Linked DNA regions of Homo sapiens: region 2 is linked to region 1. The links are contacts of gene promoters, found by promoter capture Hi-C in human tissues and cell types (Jung and others, 2019). All regions are on one chromosome and are shown on one strand. Each heading gives the region's core, a stretch centred on a gene start or on the middle of the fragment in contact. The rest is flanking DNA. Distances are from core to core; before and after follow the strand shown.

Region 1 (4,185 bases), core at 931-3,430:
TGCTTCCCTTCTCTAATAACCATAGCTACCACTAACTCGCCTCTCCTCTCCCCATCCCAACACACTCAACTAACCGAAAAAAATGTACGGATAATTCATGCACAACATGCAAGAATTCTTTGCCCAAATTTTCAAGCTAACTACATTCTTTGCCCATATTTTCCTACTTGAGTATAAGAAGGAAAAATATAGGATGGAAGCTAGTCTTTTGAAGTCTACTACTTGCCAGGTACATTGCTAGCAATTTTACACACGTCATAGCATTTATTATCCATATTTTGCCAATGAGACAATTGAGGCTGAGTTTTAAAAGATGACCTAAGGCCAAAGTCTTTGGCTCCCCGCTCCACAACTACCCTCAGCTGGAGTTTGTTCCACAGTTCAGTCGCTCATTGAGAAAACATTTATTGAGGGTGTATTACAAGCTAGTCACCCCTCTAGGCATTGGAGGTCACTCATTGAGAAAACATTTATTGAGGGTGTATTACAAGCTAGTCACCACTCCAGGCATTAGAGTTTTGAAAGTATGCAAGACAGAACAAGCCCTGCTACTCTCATAGAACTTACACGCTAGAGATGAAAGAAAACAACCAAACAGGATAAGTTCAGAGTTATAATAGTTTGCCAACATGAGTTATGCACAATAATCATCAAATCTTTTAAAATATCTACAATGAGATTAAATAGTTACAAAAAAAACTAAAGGGGGTGGTAACACTCACTAACAATTGGTAACACTGTGGCCCTTTTGTCAATTCCTGAACCAAGCCATTGCATCTTTGAATGAATCACAAGGGAGAAAGAAGGAAGCAGAGCTCTAATGCTGTTTAGAATTTCTTTATAAAATAAAGTGACTCTATAAGCTATGAGAATGGACAGTTGCAATGAATCCATTGTTGGTTCTCAAACCCAAAACCCCATATTTACCCATTTATTCATTAAAATATTGCTGTATTATTTCACGAGTTGATTTGTAAAAGTCAAGGGAGTGTTGTAATTTGACATAACGCCCCTGTGAGAAACAGAGGGGGGTTTCAACATCCACATCACAAGGTTCCCCAGACTGCACACGGTCTCCATTGGGCAATGGCATCCAGATGTCATGTGGTAGCCAGCAAGAACTGTAGGACTGGGACTAGAGTGGTCAGTAGCTACGAAGAAGTGCCTGGGCCCAGTGTGACAGCTGCCAGCACCGTCCACACGCCAAAAAGAAACTTCACATCTCTTTAAACTTGGAACACATGCAAAATACTAACAGTTTTGTTTTAGCAATAAAGACTCCCTGTCACTTACTAACTTCCTTCCCTCACCTATTTATACAAGTATAAGTTGACTAGCTGCTATTTCTATAGCTGCCTCCTATGATATTTATAATGTGTTGTGTGTGATTTGGGTTGCCCATGTCACTAACACTTTGCAAGAATTTGTGTTTGTAAATTACTCTGGAACTCTTCTGGGAGTGAATATTCCACTGCACAAGGTGGAAGCCAGACTAGAGACCATCTGCTAAGAGCAGCACTTCATTCACCCAGCTACACCTTCCTGCCAAAGCACTCTTTGCAAATCTATTTTTGCTGGTAGAAGTTACTACATAGGGAGTGGAGGCTGTTTTAAGTTATCAGTGTGCACCTTCCATTTCCTCCTAGGACGGTCACACGCCAGCAGCTGAGTTTCTCAAAGAAGCCTCAGCCCTCCTCCAGACTCGTTCTCACTCTTGCTTCGGAAGGGAGCAACAATCCTTATCAGACTAGCCGCATCTACAAGCTAAAAGTTTGCATGAACTTTCAATGGGGTACCAACCCTCGCCCCAAAAGTCCTGCCACTTTACTATTTTACAAATGCCGCCTCCAAAACATAAACAACGAAACCCTAGAGAAGAGCGAATCCATCTTCTGCTGGTGGGAAGAAATTCTAAATCTTTCCCGTTTCCCGCCACCACCTACCGCCAAGACTGGAGTCCCAGAACACTCGCCCGGGTCAGAAAGGGACCACTCCCCCCCTAGAATACTAGAGGCGGGGGAAGGGGTCTCCCAGGAAGCACACACCTGAGATAGATCCTCACGCGCGAGGGGCCAGCGGGCAGGAGCACCCAGTTCCTCCAGCCAGGGTGGAGTCGGCCTCCCCCCAGAATCAGAGCCTCGGCCCGGGTGCTCCCAGCGAGGCGCGCGGGGCTGTCACTCGAGGCGGGCTGGGCGGGTGTAACTCGAGCGCCGGGCGGGCCGCGCCCCCGCCTTCCCTCTTCCCGACTTCCTCCTCCCGCTCCCGCGCCTGCTCCCTCCCGGAGGCCTGACCAGGGCGGCGAGGCCGCCACCTCCTGCCCGGATACCTCGGGCCCAGGCTCCTCCGGCCCAGCGGGGAAACGCGGAAGTGGGGGCGGGAACCGGGGCCGGGGTTGGCGGGGGTGTGGGAGGGAAAAGCCAACAGCGGGCGGCGAGCGAGGTGGTCTCCGTGGCCCAATGAACGTGACTAGACGGGGACGCGGGTCCTGCCGCCGGGTGGGGTCGCGCAGCGCCACACGCAAGGGCCCTCGCCCCTGGCTGCAGTTCCTGCTTTGTGCCTCGGCGATGCCGGACTCCAGACCTCCGCCCCGCCTTGCCAGCGGGCTGGCGGACTGGAAAGCCTGAGCTAGGCCAGGCTGGGGAAGACGGTGGCGGTGTCCGATTTCCTGTGCCCTCGCCCATGCGGGCCGCCCTGGCCATCTGCCTGCGGGAGAGGAGACACTCGTCCGCCGGCACGCTGGCGGGGCTGGCTTACCTGACGACTTCTCGTTGTCCGCCCTGGGATCTGGCTTCTCCTACTCTGTACCTCCCGGCCGGCAGGCTTCCCTAGGCCTACAGACGTGTCCAGGAGGCGGGCGACCCTGCGACCCCGCCGTCAGAGCCCAGAACCCTCGCCCGGCTCCCCCGGCGGGCTCTGGAGGCGCGCCAGGCCTCCTGGCTCCCCGCCTGAATGTCAGCGCAGGGACCCGCAGGGAAGACCAAGCCCAAGCTCCAGGGGGTGGAATGCTGAGCACAGGTTCCCCAGACCCAGCCTCATACAGGTGGGGGGAGGCGGAGAGCCCCGGCAGCTGAACAGCAGGCTTCCCACTTGCAACCCCCCGCCACCCAAAAAAAAAAAACGACCCTGCCCACTGAGCATGCCCAGCTTACTTGTTGGAACTCCTAGGGCTAGACAAGCCCAAGGGGACCTAAGGAAGGCAAAGTTGGGGCTCAAATGGACCCCACTTCTTTAACAGCTTTGCTCCGAAGACCTCTGGGTGCTGTACTAATAACCTTTCTATCGTGGTATTGGAAAATATCCAGGAGATGGACGGAAATGCCTTTCCAAAAGAAGGAAGAAAATTAGTGTGAACCAAAAAGCAGTGGTATTTTTTTAAATAAAGTATTAAGTCACTCATTTAATGTCCTTAAATACCGCAGAATTCCTGTAGTTGACCCAGAGGAATGCATATATTTATTAAATCCCAAACTCAGTAACTTCAGGGAACCATCCATAGTCCACAGAGGAGCAATGATTCTCACCCTTGGACACATTAAAATTGGGGGGAGGGGGCAGGGAGGGGTGGAATGCCAGATTTCCATCCCCAAGTCCAATGAGTCAGTCTGGACGTGGGATCTGCAAGTCCTTGTATTTTAAAACTGGCTCTAAAAGTGTAGTCACTGGAGCCCGCAGCATCAGCATCACCTGAGAACTTGACAGAAACTGTACTCCAGTGACCTGATTCATAGACTCTGGGGCTGGGGCTGAGCTACCCAGATTTAACAAGCCCTTTGGGTAGTTCTGATGCACATTAAAGTTTGAGAACCACGGTTTAAAAGCTCCCCCAGTTGAATCATGAGCAACCAGAAAAAGGAAATTGTAGTTGAGAAAAGAAAAATAGTTCAGAGCATTTGAGCAATGTGAGGTATGCAAAATTTATCAGGCCCAGAGAGACCTTGAATATGGGACATAAGTTGCACCCCCCACACTCATGCTCAGAGGCGATTGTTTAAAGGCATTTTGTTCATGACTGACTACCCAACCATATCTTCATGTTCCTGGAATTTGTGATACGAAGAACAATCTATAGACAATTAATAGTTTGTTTTTTTATGTAAATTATTGGTAAACAATTTAGAAACTGCCTCTTCTTTTCCTTTAAAAACTTCCTTGTGGCCGGGCAGGCGCAGTGGGTCACGCCTGTAA
Region 2 (4,185 bases), core at 1,163-3,662, 730 kb after region 1:
ATGATTATACATTTGTTTCGCACCAAAGGTGCTAAACTCCAAGGGCTAAAGCAAACACAGAAAGAAACATGAAGACTATTAATTGAGCCATTGCTACCAAAAAGCATCTATTTAGTTAAAGTGTAGCCAAAGCACTTATAGATCCAACTGGCTTGGAATATTTTTTTCCACTCTGCAGTGATGGCTGAAATGTCTATAATTAGAGATATTCCTTTGGGTTCAGGTGTTATCACAATTGTTACCTGGAAGGTTAAACTGTTACTGCACATAGGCCTAGGAATACGCACAGTCTTATCAAATTATGCAGTTTAGGCAGTACTCTAGGAGAAAAACAATAGTAAATTGGAATGGGAAACCTCAGTTAATGGATTATCCTGAAAAGGATCATTTTGGGTGGGATGAAACTATGTAGGGTTTAGCTCTGATATAAAAAAGTTATTATAATTCTAATTTCCTTGCCATTGAGCCCAAGTATTCATTCTTTATGAAAAAGAAATCAATGGAGATATTCCTCAACCTAAAGTTAAAAATATAGAAGTTCTTTAGACTTGGTGAGATTTTCCCATACTTTCACTTCTTTCATGATTTCAAGCTTACTTACATATTTTTCTTGCATTACAATTTTTTTCCTACTCTTTAGCTTTTGTGGTTAGGTAAATGACTACTTTCAGGAGTTTTGAATTAATGATTTATTTGTGATCAGGAACAGAATGAACCATAAACATATTACTTGAAGTGTTTTGTTTTTCCCCAATAGACATGATTGATGGTGCTCTAGTCTGGTTTTCCTTGTGATCAACGACTTTTATTTATGAAGTGACATGACCAATGGCAATAGAGTTCATTAAGAAATTAGGCTACCAAGTTTCTTTAAATTTCAGATTTATTTTCAAAAAGGGTGCTTATATTATATACTCACTAGTAAGCTATATAATTTTGTGGCGCTTACTGTTTTAATTAAGCTATTGAACAAATTTTTGTAAATATCTTTTGGGTGCAGGCTACATATGAGCTTATTACTAGGGTTGGCATCAGGATGAGATGACCACAGAAATAAATAATATGTGCTTTTGGTCTTAAGACAGTTTCAGTTTAAAGAAAGAGGCAGATTTTTACATAAATAACACCAAAAAGTAAATTGAATAAGGAGATGGGGCTGTTAAGTAAGAAACTTAAGCCCACATTTCATATTGGAACCCTGGATCGTTAATTATAATGTGGGTTTTCCAACTGTGTTCCATAAAGTCCTACCAAGATGTAGTAGAAGGGGCCACTATATTTAAAATAAAACAAAAACAAACGTACAACATTTTTGTTTTTATTATAAAAATATACATTTAAAAAAATAAGACAAACTTATGAAAAAGAAACCATAATTCCACACTATCAATGAACTATAATTTCATTAATATGTGTCCCTCTGTCTTCCTTACCCCAAAATGGGATCAAACTATTAAGAAAAAACTTTGTAGCCTACATTTTTACTTAATACATCATGAACTGCTTCCTATGTTATAAACAATTTGTGTAACAGTTATACATTCATACTTGTTTATCCAATAAAAAATTGCTTACAGATAATTTATTATATTACAGATACATTCACTTTCCAGGGATACAATGGGTAAACCAAAGATATGTGTTGCTGATAGTGCCAAATCATACTAGAATTTGGGACAAAAGAACTGGTTGACTAGAAGAAGATGCAGGAAAAAATGTATCTTTTCATCTTCTATTAAGTCACTGTTGAGGATGTTAACTAAGTGTTTGGCCAACAGATGAGTTCTGTTCTGTGCGTCCTTTGTTATCATGAACTGCAAGAACAAAGTACTGAGAATTGCTTAATTTTGTTCTACTCACAAAACAGAATATGATGTCTGTTCACTATGCACATAAATGAGATCATAAAATCAAGACTTTAAAGGTAGAATAGGGAATTATACAAGTATTGATTCAAGTCCTGGCTCTATCATCCAAAAATTGTGTGACCTTATTTGAAAGCATTCTACTGATTCCTGGCCTGGCCCTAGAAGTTCAAAGAACACCAGAGTAGGTAAGGGAAATTCTGCTTTTAACAATTTTCTTACGTGGTTCTGACCATCTGAAATAACAAAGCATAAATAGAACACTGGTGAAACATATAGAGGAAATAGGACTATACTACTTTTTTTCTAGTAGTTATATGTCTTCAGTCTACAACCACCAGAATTTTTATGATCCTCTCTGTCATCTAGCTATTATCTATGTATTATCTAACTCTATCTAATTAGCAGTAAGAACATTTTCCCAGATAAACAAATGTAGATTTTGAATTGATTGCAGAAGAAGTCAGAGAGGGAGAAAATAATTTTTTTTCACAAACATAAGAACATATATGTATTTAAAAATGTGTGAGAATGTCTGTGTCTATGCATGTGTACTTATTCCCAATTTTTACTAATTTTGTCCTATACCAATCATGTGCGCTTCCTTGTAACTTTTCCTTTACCTAACCAAATATGAATGCACCAGGAAGCTCTTTAATTGGGAGTGGGTATGATCTCCAAGTGTGTGGGACTGGTCCATATGAATTAAAAAATACTAAAGGAAATAGAGAGCTCTCCACTTAAAATTAGTGCTCAAAACAGAGAGTAATTAGGTTTAGTAGAAAACTCAGTTAAAGTTGTTATGTGACTACACTATTAGAATTAAGAGGTAACTGAGATTTCCCAAGTGATAATAGATAATTTGCTGTTTAGCCTGTAATGAGGTTTGAAAAAAAGATGCTCAACAAGATATCAGCAGTAACTATAAAGACATTTCTTAGAAGGTCCACCCAGTGGGCATTTATTCCTTTATCCTTATAAAAGAGACAAACTGTCTAATGCAATATACTCTCAGTTCTCATCATTAGTGCCCCCAAAAAGATTTCTATTGACCCTAACCATCTCTACTGACTATTTCCTCCCTGCTGGCTTTTCCTGGTTTTCTGCTGAACTATTCTGTCACGAGACATGAGTCAGATGTGGTGGGATAGTGCAGAGAAAGAGAAATCACAACCTTCAATGTTGTAGTAATTACATTTTTACTAGAAATATCCAGAGAAATAGGATGCAATCTTTAAATGCATATGCAAATCATGTGCAAATTATATGCTAATACATGTGTGGCCCGCCTAACGATTACACATAACTGAATGCAGCCCTTGGGAAAATCTTATTGGAGATCATTGGTCTAATGAAAGTTGCTGCTGCATGCTAATTACAGTGACATGTGTGCTGCTGTATTGCCCCTTAGTGGTGAGGGGAATGACAGAGGTTAGTTGAAGTTAGATGACTGACTGACAGGAATTATGTCTGTCACCACAGAAGTAAATAGCAAAATATGTCTATTCTCTGAAATCCAATTTTTATGTCTTTGTATCTAAATTAAAATGCAGTCTTGTATGACCACTGACAATGTGTTCAGGAAGATAGGAGTCTGGAGACAAAAGATACAAATTACTAATTGACTGAGTCAGGTTAGTCTTTCTTTGCTATAGTATTTTCACAAATTTTCTATTTCTTAACAGTTGACTAACTCATTGGAAATATGAAGATTATAGAAATATACTATATACATTTAGAGAAGTAATAGTACTCATTTTTCAAAAATAAGTCAAGTTCTAAAGAGATTTAATGCCTCCTTTAAAACAGACAAATCCAAGCTCCACTATGTTCAGCTGTATGACCTTGGACAAGTCTCTTAACATCTTTGAGTCTTGAATTACTTAACCACAAAAATATGATAATAGTATATACCTCCTTGGGTAATTAGAGGATCGCATGAAATACTGTTTTACAGAGCCTAGGGTTTGAAAGGCAGGTGCTCATGAACCTATTATATTTCAAATAAGTGATTTTTTAAAAGTATTTATTATTTATATCTAAATATGTTCTCTATTTTAAACTAATTTTTAGTTTATGATATTGACATTTCCTAATTAGAGAGATACTCAATATTTGAGAGGTGACTCATTCTTATTTAAGCTATCTCAGAAAAAAAATTAAAAAATAGACTTGATTGTGATGTAGAATATTAAACAGAAATATAATTTGTGATTGTATTTAGGAATCCTAATACCACCATTTGAGACTTATGACTAAGAAATGAAGAGATTGAATTGTGGAGGAAGAGTGAAAGAATTACCTTAATTATTCATTAACC

The links. The method cuts DNA at HindIII sites, captures the fragments that hold promoters and counts their contacts. A contact is called where the count stands out against the background at its distance.
Region 2: a fragment that was not itself captured here is called in contact with the fragment with the promoter of GPD2 in region 1 in 1 of the 25 tissues and cell types used here (hippocampus).

The regions. Positions count from the first base shown.
Region 1 is chr2:156,434,374-156,438,558 of GRCh38, reverse strand. GPD2 (glycerol-3-phosphate dehydrogenase 2) reads right to left here and starts at 2,180. Exons shown (of 17, transcript NM_000408.5): 1 at 2,046-2,180. RefSeq lists silencers at 2,059-2,468, 2,909-3,078 and an enhancer at 2,619-2,668. The HindIII fragment of the contact is 7,799 bases long and covers 1-4,185 here.
Region 2 is chr2:155,707,331-155,711,515 of GRCh38, reverse strand. No RefSeq gene overlaps it. Among named protein-coding and RNA genes, the nearest start is that of LINC01876, 550 kb to the left of the region's middle. The HindIII fragment of the contact is 5,969 bases long and covers 1-4,185 here.